3 separate regions of the Homo sapiens genome follow, and all the other regions are linked to region 3. The links are contacts of gene promoters, found by promoter capture Hi-C in blood cells and fetal thymus (Javierre and others, 2016). All regions are on one chromosome and are shown on one strand. The core of a region is centred on a gene start or on the middle of the fragment in contact, and the rest is flanking DNA. Distances in the headings are between cores, read along the strand shown. Region 1 holds the start of INSYN2A (inhibitory synaptic factor 2A). Region 2 holds the start of NPS (neuropeptide S). Region 3 holds the start of FANK1-AS1 (FANK1 antisense RNA 1).

Region 1 (4,295 bases), core at 914-3,413, 1.2 Mb after region 3:
AATATGAACTTTCAAAAGTAACATTCAACAGGATATGAATGTAAGAAATAGTACAGTGTGGGGGAATAGTAAAAACCAGCACTTTCCGCCTCTGCATAGTGAAATGACGGTAACTTGCTGTAGCGTAAGCTTAATAAGGGTTATATCATTTTCATGTATGTACTACTCTGGGAATGGCCCGGGTCTTGTGAGTGGTATTTTTTCATCAAGTACCCAGCCAGCGCAGTCACTCTGACAGTCCCCCCACTGAGATAAGGCATGGAAAGGTAACCCTCTAGCAAGTCCTCGTTGAGGGGGGAGCGTTCAAGTGCACAGACGTCTACCCTGTGCTATCCTGAGCTGTAGTCTTCTGAAATGATCGTTTGGCTTCCCAGCCAAGGCAGGGCTCCCCCAAAGTTCATTCCCACTCTTGCAGTTTCACCTCGGGATGCTTCCGCAGAATTTCAGCGCCTAAGCAGACAAGGTCAAAGTAAACCGCTTCACCGCTGCTTCTGGCGCAGGGGCCCAGAGCGCGTGCAGCTCCCCAGCACAGACCAACAGCAGGAGAGGGGTCCGGGCGGGAGCCCTGGGCTGTAGATAAGCAAAACGCACCCATTTTCTCTCCTATTTACTCCAGAGGCACCTCTCCTCCCCCACTCCTGGCATCTCTTTATCACTGGCTCCCTCTCCCTGTGGCATATTTTTGGGTAGTAGAATGCTGAGGTCACAGGGAGCGGCTCTTTATCCAAGCAGTGGGGACATCAGCCTGGAGCCCTGAGCATGAACCAGCAAGATGCAGACTCTCGCTCTTGACTTTGGGCTCCAGGAGCTGCCCCGACCCCGGGCTGCCCGCGGGCTCCCTCCTCCCTCCTGCCCTCGCCCGCCAGCTCGCAGTCTCTTAGGTCTGCAGCGTTGGTTGGTTTCCCACGCCTGTCCCGGTCTGACTCGGGCTGCCAGGCACCGGGAAGCCCCGCGGCGCCGACCCCAACCCGCAGCCCCGGGAAGGTGCCAACCCCAGCGAGTGGAGGAGACGAGCATTTCACGTGGGCATCTGCCTTCACTGCTGCTCGCGCCTCTCCTCAACGGCCGGCGTCAGGGCCCCTCTGTTCCAACTCATCCCCCCCCCGAAGTTAATCAGCCGTACTTGTACTTTCCAGGGCGCTTTAGTTTGGAAAATACTTAAAAGCCTCGAAACCTTCCGGGGAGACGGCCGCCCCCAGATCTCCCAGTTTTGCCTGGCTAGGGCTGTCGGGCGCTCACGAAGCTGTGGCGTCTGTCTGGAACCCACATCGCAGAGGCGCAGCCCCGCTCCTCCCTGACGTCGCCAAAGTTGCCAGACGCCCCTCAGCGACCCGGTCGCGCCAGATGCAGTTGCATAACCTTGCCCCCCACCTGCGACCGCACCGGGTCCGCTCCCGGCTGCACCGGGGTGTCCCGGCCCCGGGAGCCGCCGAGTTTCCGGCCAAGCCGGTTTGGGGCCGAGTGTGTGCGCCCGAATCGGGGTCGGCGCCCGTCCCAGCGGTGCTCTGCCCGCGGCCAAGTACGACGGGCGCGGGGGCGCGGGAGGAGGGCACGCGGGGCTCCGCTTACCTTCCGCTGCTTACAGATAAGTCGAGGTCGATGCAGCGCCTGGCTCGGGCATGTCTCGCTGCGGACCCTGGCAAGCCTGGGGCGGCACGGAGCACTCCGGACAGGGCATCCGCGGCCAGACTCGCCGCGCTCACGCGGAGGAAGCCTCGGCTCCGGGGACTTGGCCCGCTGCGCGCCTGCTGCCCGCCCCCTCCACCGCTGCCGGCCCGGCCCTGCTGGCCCGGCCGGCCCCCGCGCCGCAGCTCGCGTCGCTCGCGTCCCTCCGGCCCCGCTTAGCGACGCGCGCGGGGAGGCAGCGGCTGGGCCAGCTCCGGGGACGCCCGCGCGCTCGCTTGCTCGCGACGCGGCGGAGCCAGCCACAGCCACCCGGCTTCGCGCTCCTCCGATGTCCTCATTTACTGCAATTGTCTTCGGCGAGATCTCAGAGCCAGGGCCAGGAGGCGGGGGCGGGGCAGAGGAGGGAGCAGGAGGGAAGTCCTTTCCGCTGCTCCAGGTCCCAGCTACTCCGCGGAGCCGGGCGGCCAGAGGCGAGGGCGCCCCAAGCCGCGCGCCTGCCGCCTGTGCGCCCGGCTGGCACCGAGGCGGGCGGAGCCCCGGGCCCCGCGGGGCGGAGGTGGGGCGGGGGCGGCGCGGGGCCGGGCCGGGCCGGGCCGCGTGCGTGGGGTGGGGGATAGGGAGGGAGTGGAGGAGCCCCCTCCCGCCGCCGCCAGAGCTGGAGGAGGAGGAGGAAGAGGAGGAGGAGGTGGAAGGAGCTGCCGCCGGCTGCCGCCGGCTGCCGCCTGCGCGCGGGGCTCCGCCACAGCGCGTCCTCCGGGTTTCTGGGCTGCAGGCGGCGCTGCATGGCCCGGGAACTTGTTGAGTCTACCCTGGAGCCGCCTCCGGAGCAGCTGGCGGGCGGGGGACTCCGTGTGTTCTCTCAGGGATGGGGGGTCGCTGGGGACCCTGCTGCATGACTGTCTGCTGTGCCAGCCAGCCTGGCCCGGCGGGGCTTTGGGAAGCCAGGCTTGAAGGGTGCGTGTCTTGTAGGTGCCTGGCCGCTCACCTGCGGATGCTGCCTTGTAGAAGCAGGAGTTCGGGGATCCTTTCAGTGCTGGCTCCAACCTGGTGTCAGCCTCTCTACATGGGGACAGGAGGTCCTATGAGTGGCCTGAGGACTGAAGTGGGAGGGCCTGCCTGGTAATGTTGCATGCTGACATTTAGGGACACTCCAGAGCAGGCGCCACTGCCACTCCTAGCCAGGAACCCTACCCCCCATCCAGAGCACACACCACCCGTCAGCAGAAGCCACAGGGCGCAGAGGCTGAGTTCCTTTGTGGCAGAGTAGAATTCTCTTGGGAGAGGAAAAGACCTAGGATGCACACGGAGCTATCCCCGCCCTTAATTTCCCACCCACCAAAGAGTATTGGGTGTTTTGAGCTCAGAGCAGCAGACCCAGGGGCCCCTCTGATGCCTGTCAGGCCCTGGGGTCTGGGCCAGGGACTAAGCAGCCAGCCGAGTGCAGGGCTCCTGGCCCCCTGGATTTGCTCCTAGAATGTAATGTAAAATGTAAGTAGCCACATTTATTAGTCTGTTTCTCAGGAAAGGTCAGAGAAGTAGTGGACCCCAGGGAAGGGACAGGCTTCGGAGAGGAAATTGGGAGGACAAATGGAAAGTCCCTTCACCCACCCACCTCTCCAGACACATCAGTGGGCAGTGAGACCTCTTTGCCTATACATCCCTGAGTCTCTGCACCTAGCACCAGCTCTGTGCCTGTGACCAAGCCATAGCTCCATCCTTGTTCGCTGAGCTGAACTGAGCCTATCACTGCCTTATAGAGTGTCTGTTTTTTATAAATGACTTTATACGAAATACCTTCTTTGTATGTGGATGCTTTGGGCAGTGTGTCCAGACATTTCAGAAGAAAAAAAAATCTAAAATGTCATCTATTTCCCTCTTTACCCCGCAGCATCCTTTGGTATACAATTTTGCCAGCCTTGGGGATCCAGATATGCCCAGGACGGGAGTCCTGAGCCTGTGGATCCAAACTCTGCCCACCTCACTCTTCTTGTTGTTCTTCTTAACTCAGATCCCCCAAGCTGATTTTCCAGCTTACCAGGGAGGCTGTTGGGAGCTGGCTGGAAAGAGATGCTTAATTTTGTGTGAGCAGTATGGAAACTGCAGTCCCCTCTTCTGCCTGGAAGGGGCCTGGGAAGGGAATGTATAGGAGTTGGGGACGTTTAAAACCAGATAGGAGAAGTTGCCACTCTCCAGCATGTTCCCTTGGGGATGTGCTGTTGCAGCTGTGGGCTCCAGTAATTTTCCCAGTGGTCTGGGGAACTTCTGTAAATCTTACTTTATTGGCAATCCATAAAATTGAAATCTGCCTTCCGTCTTTTAAAGTGACTGTAAATAAAGCTGCCAGGAAACTTGGGCATTGGGCTGGTAGTATCAGAAGGCTGAAGTTTTCCGGGACCAAGAGTGAAAACAGGTCAACATAAATGCATGCCCAGCAAGGCAGTGCTCAGCCACAGGTGGCACTGTGAACTGGCAAGAAAACAGCTCCAAGGACAGTGCTATCTGAGATTCGCATGATGTATAACTCCAGGAAGAAAATGGAAAGCCGTAATTGGCAGGTTAGAAAATCCACTTACATGAAGAGGAGAGTATAACGGAATTCTGTAGCATCATCAGGACTGCTTAGAGTTGTTCAATTGTGTAGTAGACTTACAGTTGTTTTGCTAAGTCTA
Region 2 (4,178 bases), core at 333-2,832, 1.6 Mb after region 3:
ATCCTTCTGCATTCTTTTTGGGTTCCTGCGTGTGTGTGTGTGTGTGTGTGTGTGTGTGTTTTAGCTAAAACAACCAAAAGTAAATATGTGTGTTCAGTCCCTTTGTGCTCTTAGGCCCTTTGTCTCCTAATATCCACACTATGTCCCATAAGAACACTGATCAAAGTAGTTTGGATCACTTCCTCAGCCCCTCAACTTGGCTCTAATCTTGTGAGCTTGGTTCTCTTGAGAGTCCAGGTCATCTGCTTTTCCTTGTGATGGCAAACTGTGACTGTATGATTGACAGCTACATAAAAATCATGCAAATGGCAGTTCCCCAAAGAAAGAAATGCAGTGCCAACAAATTGGCAGCAACTGTCCCAGACACAGGGCAGCTTTGTCCTCCAAAAGGTGCTGATCTCGAGGAGGCACGGATTATCCTTGGTTGCTTTGTATTCAAAAACTGTTGGCATCATCTCAGAAACACTAGTTATCCAAGCAGAAAGCACCTCCCTTGGTGTTTTTCTCCATTGTAAGCCTCAGCAACATCTGTTCATACTTAGAGCTCCTGAATCCATTTATTAATGCAGATGCCCATTGAAGTGCAAGGACAGCAAAGGCTGCCTGAAGAAATTCCATACCCTGGGGAGAAAAAGGAAGCCATGAAAAGCAGGCTCTCCCAGAACTGTGGGCCTGGGACTTTGGGAGCCCGTGGGACTTTTGGGAGTACATGGCATGGACAGGGGATACACAGTGTCCTTCCTTTATTTCGATGACTAGCGGAAAAGGTGTGACATTTATTTTCCTGCTTTAACTGCTGAAGTCCTAAAGGAAAGAAATCTAAGGTAGAAAATGTAAATAATCTGCATGAGTTGTTTGGGTAAATGTGTTTTTTTGTTTGTTTTTGTTTTGTTTTGTTTTGTTTTGAGTCAGAGTCTGGCTCTGTCACCCAGGCTGGAGTGCAGTGGGGCAATCTCGGCTCACTGCCACCTCTGCCTCCCGGGTTCCAGCGATTCTCCTGCCTCCTGCCTCAGCCTCCCAAGTAGCTGGATTACAGGTGTGCACTACCACGCCTGGCTAATTTTTGTATGTTTAGTGGAGATAGGGTTTCACCATGTTGGCCAGGCTGGTCTCAAACTCCTGACCTCAGGTGATCCACCTGCCTCGGCCTCCCAAAGTGCTAGGATTACAGGTGTGAGCCACCGTGCCCAGCTGGGTAGATGTTCTTTATTCCTGTAAGTATTTCTTTTGTGTTAGTTTCTGAAACATAATGTCTGGGACATTCAAGGAAAGAATGTCATCCTTCTTAAAGGTTTAAATTCTAAGCTAAAAAAACCTTTTGTTTCCTTTTGAGACCTCTGGCCACCCATGCCACAATGATTCAGTCTCGAAGACAATGGTTTTGAAGGACATTCTTAATGGCAAACTTTAAATGAAGTCGATCATTGGCAGCTCAATGACAATGCCCATATGTTATGTCCTTTTCTTCTTAACAAGAACAAAAGGCCACAGACAGAACAATTAGTCATATAGGAGGGATGAGATGACATTTTTACTCCCGAACTTTTCTGGTATAAAAGGGCCACCCAATGAGGGTCTGAGAGTAAGTGTGAGAAATTTGGCAATAAAACCACCTATCTTTACAGATTTTGGGAAGTCCAAAATGATTAGGTAAAAGGCTACGTTTTTCTGCAAAGAAAAATGTTGCATTTTCATATGCTGTTTTACTTATTCTTGCCTACTTGAGACTAAATCTTGATTGTACTTTTTTTCTACTTTGCAGCTCAGTAAAACTCAATCTCATCCTAGTTCTGTCGCTGTCCACAATGCATGTGTTTTGGTGTTATCCAGTTCCATCTTCTAAGGTAAGGATTTGCCTCCGTTGTGGATATTTAAATAGATGACTAGAATGGTAAATTATGTAAATTCCAAATACTTTCAAGGAATATGTGACAGAAAAGTAATTTCCTTTATTATTAGAGTTCTCAATGGGAAAAAGTCAGCAGATTGATGACATTAGTAAAAGAAAATATTAGTGTGACAAGTAACACTGGACTATATTCAAATTTGTTTTGAATTATTTAGGGTTGGCTCCTGCAAAGGGAAATATTCATCTCAATCTAAAGTAATTTTTTTGCCAATGGCAATTTATTTATTCCACATGCATTCATTCATAATCAAAGTGAACACTTAACCATGGAAACTATATTAAAAATAAAGTGGTCATTTTTCAAAAACAGTTTAATTTTTTCAGATGCAGAATATAGATAAAACGTTAGCTCTAAATAAAATATCACATAAAATATTAATTCATATATTTATTAGAGAATATTGATTGAACTCCTACGTTCATTGAACTGTTCAAGACATTCAGAAAATAAATATCTTTCTTTGGAATATTTAATATTATTTCTACATAATATTTCAGTTGCCTTTATGTCAATATTTTGTTTATAATTTTAAAATATCTTTTGTCATTGACGGCATTTTGAACTTGAACTTTTTTTCACTAAAACGTAACCTGTCACATTATAATGACTGAAATCAATGTGATTTATGAAACTACTTTTAGGATAAAGGGATGTCGCATAAATCCTAAGTGATAAATATATGTCTGAACATAATGATCTAGTTATTTATATTATTGGCCTTTTCACTAATCTTTGCATCTGTCATTTTTCTATTTCTTGTTTATTTAATATAGCTTCTTTTTTTTGGTTTCCTCCTATGAGCATTCAACACTAATTTAGTCATCAATTCTATAAGACACCACATTGATCAAGCTGATGAGTCACAATCCATATACTGGTATATTTTCTCAAGTGTCTTCCTAATTACTTTCTGTTCTTTCCCCAAAGGTTTACTCATGACATTTCTGTTGAATAACAGGCTCTTCTCTGTAGCTTTTTTAAAAGAAATTAAGAATGTACTTTGTTCTAAAATACTTATGAGACTTCCTTGTCCATAAATGAAATGTTTCTCCTTTCACTGCATTTTCCTTATTTCTATTTTTGCACGTGACAGTTTTGTTCTTGTTATTACCTAGTTCCGTAGTAAGAGTGTGGATGCTATTCATGCCAATTTGATTGCTTAGGGTGAATGATTATGCAGGCAGACGACACATAGGCTTTTATAATATTTGTTGCGAACTTCACTGAGTCCATTAACCAGGCAAATATACAATCTTATTATGTTAATGAGTCTGCCCTGGCAAGGGCTGCCTTCGACGATCAGCAAAGTGCATCAGTGTCTTTTTAGGGATGTTTCAGGAATCTCATAACCAGAACTGATACATTCCTTTTGCAGTATAAAGGTGGCATCATGAGTATTTCTGGAAAGAACTGGCTTGCTTCCCTTCCTGCAATGACTCAGAGGCCCTTCCCTGCTGGGGATTTTAAATAGAAGGCGTTCTCTCTATCATGTTTAGATTTCCTCTGTTAGCACACGGAAAAATACATAGTGGATGTCCGACTAAGAGTGTTTGATTGGTTTTCTCATGACCAATATTTCTGAAACTCTCTGACCAAACTCTCTGAGATGAAAAAGGGGGGAAAAAGCCCATTTTTTTTCCCCAGAGGCCAGTGGGAATGATTTGTCTGGGTTGCACTGAATCTTCAGTAAACCACCCACGCGTGGGTGAAGAATTACAGGGAACGCTTTATGCACTCTGGCCCCGTTTCGACTTCCATACAGTAACCTGAGACCACACTTGTTTTCCTGCACCAAGATAGAAAAAAAAGTATGAGTTTTACCTTGTAGTATGTCTCTTTATTGATAATAAAAGCACTCAGTTTCCTTTTCCTCTTGTAGTTCTAGTATAGTTGAGAAACCTAAACTTAGAGTCAGATGCCTTGAAAATAATAGTATCTACTTCACAGAGTTTTGTTTAGGAGTAGGACAAGATGATGCCCATAATGCAAGCAGCACACAGATCATGGGTAAATCTGTGCTTTGCATTATTGGTGAAATTTGTATTAGCATCTTATCAGTGTGTTATAATTCCTCTGAAACCATGCAAGAGGGAAAACACAACAAGTGTTGATGATTCGTACCCAAGCCCTGGGTCAGAGCTGCCTCTTGGAATCTCCAGCCCTGTCACATGGGGCATGCACCTTTGGTCTTGTACTTAGTTTTTTTATCTGCAAAATATGGGGTTGAACTTCAGGTTCCTGAAGGCCAGTTTGAACTCTAAGATTGCA
Region 3 (3,948 bases), core at 1,278-3,777:
TGAGCCGAGATCGCGGCAGTACAGTCCAGCCTCGGCAACAGAGGGGGACCGTGGAAAGTGAGAGATGGAGACGAGGGAGAGGGGAAGACCGTGGAAAGCAGGAGACGGGAGAGGGAGAGGGAGAGCTTGAGCTTGAATTTTTCAAAATGTTGATTTTTGTCACCTTAGGAAAGATGTGTTACTTGTTATACATCCAGCATGGTTAAGTCCTAGTGTCAAGTGAGCCAGGACTATAGTCACAGATATACTTACCTCTCCTTGCAACTTTAGCTGTATTATAAAACTTGGGGGTGATAACATTTACAAATAGACTTGTTCATGTATTAGTAGTAAATTCAGAGTACTTTTCCACTGTGATATGTGCTTTCTGCCCTAAGTATATACAATCTTTTCAGATTTATCTATGAGCTATCTTGCTAATTGTTTCACCCACATTCTATAGCCTTTCCCTCCTGTTGATGCAACTCTTCCTCTTCCAGATTTCATGCTGAACCTAATGCAGCATTTGACTGGCTTCCTACCCATTCCCATAGTGTCTGCAAGTAAACATCAGTCAAACTCTCTGCCTTCTTGGTCTCCACTACTGGTTGCTATGGGCTTTCTATACCATCTTTCCTTTCCTGGACTGGGCTCCTGAAGGTCAGCAGCCTCCCTGACCTCGGTGCTATAATAAGTTGCCTTCTCTTCTGCTTGCACACAACATCTCTCTACTTTATTCAAACAATTACCTGGTTTGCATTGTCTCACTTTTTCTGACCAAGTTTTCTTGATCATTTAAAAATTTCCTTGGGGTTCAAGCCAGTTCACAAGCTAGACCTGATTTAAAATGAATAATTTAAGGAAATCTGGAGAACGAACTAATAGTAGATTTTTCACCCTGGTCTACATTTTTCTGAGACGGAGTCTCGCTCCGTCGCCCAGGCTGGAGTGCGGTGGCATGATCTTGGCTCACTGCAAACTCCGCCTCCTGGGTTCACGCCATTCTCCTGCCTCAGCCTCCTGAGTAGCTGGGACTACAGGTGCCCGCTACCACGGCCGGCTAATTTTTTTGTATTTTTAGTAGAGACAGGGTTTCACCATGTTAGCCAGGATGGTCTCGATCTCGTGACTTTGTGATTCGTCCACCTTGGCCTCCGAAAGTAAAGTGCTGGGATTACAGGTGTGAGCCACTGCGCCCGGCCGCTCCGGTCTACATTTTATATCTCTACTCTTAAGAGGCAGTATGGTACAAGGTTAAAAGTAAGGGACTTCTGAGCCAGATTATCTTCATTTTAATCCTGGTTCTACCAGTTATTTCTGTGTGACCTTGGGCAAGTTATGTAACTTCTCTGTGCCTCAGATTGTTTATAAGGGAGATAATAAAAATCCTTACAGCATATAGAGTTGGTGAAGTTAAATGTGGTGAAAGTTAAATGAATAAATAAAGCATCCACACTAGTACATGACCCAAATTAAGTGTCATATAAGTGTTGCCGCATTGCAGTTCTCCTCAGTGACGGCCTGTGACCTGCCATTTCTGTCGGCTCTTACCAAGGCTCGGTGCCGCCCCGGGCCTCTGCTCCATTGTCATAGTAATGTTTGCACTCTGCTAGTCACCTGTAAATATACATATTTAGGATCCTAAAACCAATATCCTAAAATATGTATATTAGCAGATGATGACAAAAACACCAGAATTTTTATCAAAGAGAAAGTAGAAAGTATATGGGTTAATATTGTAAGGATTAGGATACACCTGTCAAATTACTCTAGGTTGGCTTAGAAACAAAGCAAAACAAATTGGGTCCCATCCACTATTTTTTGGCATTCTGAAAATAACTAGCTCTTACCTGATGAGGTCATTCATTCATGACCTGACCATCCAGGTCCTATCTGGCAATAATAGCTTTTTGCAAAAAGCAACTCTTGCCTAAGTGGAGATTTACATCTTGATGAGTTTTGTATGAAAGTAAAGAAGATGCAGGAACATTATCAGTGGGGCGTACACTAACCATTGGCATTTCTGAGCAACGTGTTGCGTAGTTGTGTGATTTGGCAGCAGCTGGTCCATTGCTGACACGTGTGTGTGTTCACTGAGGCTTCACTCACACCTAAGGCTTCCTTGGAGAGACCATGCTGCCATTACATTTGGATCACTACCTGCCCCCAACACACACACACACACACACACACACACACACACACACACGAACCAACTTTCCAAGCACCACACCCACCTTTTCCGGGCTCTGTACCAGATCTGGAGGGGTGATGGCTAGAAGTGAGGGTTTTTGCTCCATCATGAGTAGCAGCTGGAAGTGGGCCTGTGCCCAGCTCTGGTGGCAGTGGGCCACCTGTGGCTGGTGCCAAGCTCACTGATGGAGATCTCTCATTATGTACCTACATCAATGATCAGTAAAGAACAAGCCATAAGAAACTTTTGGGTCTCTGGGAATGTTATCTTTTTACTCCTCATATAACTTCATGGTGAACTGTTTTGAAATTTGACATTAATTTAGAATTTCTTGCCTGTTCTGATCTCTAGTAGGATTCTAGGCTGGATGTCTTTGGAATTGAAATACTTGTTGGCTTCTGGTTATTTTGGGGGTAATCCATAACAGTCTACCATTCCTGGTGTTTGGTTTTAGTGGGCTGTGAAAAAAATCATTTGTTCAACACTGATGTCGTGATACAAGGACGTGAAGATGTGAGTCATTGTGACATCACCAGCCAGAATTGCTGGGATTCAGTGAGATGACTCACAGTAAGAGGTCAGTGTCTGGTTCAGTAGTTCCTTCTTCCACATGTATCCCTCAGTATCTAGAACCCTGAAATTGGTTTCTCTAAGAAAACCAAGAGGCCCATAAGGGTAATGTATACTGTTGATTTTTATGGTTATTTTTCAAAAACTAATATTTTAAACATATCAAAATTATTTCAAATGGTAATGTACTCAATGTACCATTTGGTTTAAGATGTTAACATTTTGCCATATATGTCATAAAGTCTTTTCATGAAGAAATCAAACCTTACAAATATACTGGTAAGACCCCCCTCCTGCCCATCATGCCCCCATCCCTTCCGTTATGTTGTTGAGGTGGTGTATGTTCTTCCCTTCAGCTTTTTAACTTTTACTACATATCTGTGCATTCATAAATAACATGTAGTGTTTTTTGCGTGTTATGTAGTGTGTCCTTTTGCAACCCATGTTTTCCACCCATCCATTTTGAATTGATCTATGTTGATGCAGGTGTATACAAAACTCATACAGCTAATTTCTTTTAGTTGTTGTATAGGATTTTACTGTAGGAAATATGCCATCATTTATTTAGATACTTTGTAACTTAATTATCACAAAACACTTTGTGGTATTTTTAACTCAGTTTCAGAGAACATATTCAAACCTAGGTTTATCCAATTCCATCATGCTTTCTATAAACATTTGGAAAATAAAGTTGGGAAAGTGAGCTTGCAGGCTGCCTCCTAGCATATCTCTGGGGTCTTCGTGTAAGGGAAATTGTTGGCTGTGTGCCCCACTGGCCTGGGGTGGCAAGACCAGGGCAGCCCTGTCTTCGTCAGTGGGTCTGCACTGCAGGAAGACCCCTGGGTCTTCAGAGGGTGCTGGTCAGCTACTTGGGACATTGGCTCAAGGGAAATACAAGATCCTTTTTTTTTAAATGAACAATGCAGTAAATCTGTGATATATTTGAGGCTCAAGAAGGATTGAGTTACAGGGAGAAGTTTCAAAGGAAGTGTAAGACATGGACCCAGCCTGTAAGAAACTTAAAGTGTAGCAGGGGAGACAAAACTAACATAGAACAATTGCATGCTACACAGCTTGGTATACACTCTACTGCACCCCTTGTTACCTTTGGCAAAAATGAGATATTCTGTGTTTTTCTTTGCACCTTGATTTCTCACCCAACAATACTTAGTGGAGGTCCTTTCAAAGCACCTAGTATAGAACAA

Evidence for each region. Contacts are between HindIII fragments. The CHiCAGO score rates a contact against its expected background, and 5 or more counts as called.
Region 1: a contact is called between the fragment with the promoter of INSYN2A here and the fragment with the promoter of FANK1-AS1 in region 3, in 1 of 17 cell types (M2 macrophages). The highest score is 7.3, in M2 macrophages.
Region 2: a contact is called between the fragment with the promoter of NPS here and the fragment with the promoter of FANK1-AS1 in region 3, in 6 of 17 cell types (total B cells, non-activated CD4 T cells, total CD4 T cells and 3 more). The highest score is 12.6, in total B cells.

What each region holds. Positions count from the first base shown.
Region 1 is chr10:127,194,428-127,198,722 of GRCh38, forward strand. INSYN2A (inhibitory synaptic factor 2A) reads right to left here and starts at 2,164. Exons shown (of 6, transcript NM_001039762.3): 1 at 1,570-2,164. The region is part of intron 27 of DOCK1 (dedicator of cytokinesis 1); the gene reads left to right. The HindIII fragment of the contact is 7,592 bases long and covers 128-4,295 here.
Region 2 is chr10:127,547,727-127,551,904 of GRCh38, forward strand. It overlaps NPS (neuropeptide S), which reads left to right and starts at 1,583. Exons shown (of 3, transcript NM_001030013.2): 1 at 1,583-1,650; 2 at 1,763-1,844. The coding sequence starts at 1,643. The HindIII fragment of the contact is 10,264 bases long and covers 1-4,178 here.
Region 3 is chr10:125,970,746-125,974,693 of GRCh38, forward strand. FANK1-AS1 (FANK1 antisense RNA 1) reads right to left here and starts at 2,528. Exons shown (of 4, transcript NR_102707.1): 1 at 2,509-2,528; 2 at 2,217-2,379; 3 at 1,992-2,100; 4 at 1,443-1,596. The region is part of intron 1 of FANK1 (fibronectin type III and ankyrin repeat domains 1); the gene reads left to right. The HindIII fragment of the contact is 7,061 bases long and covers 1-3,948 here.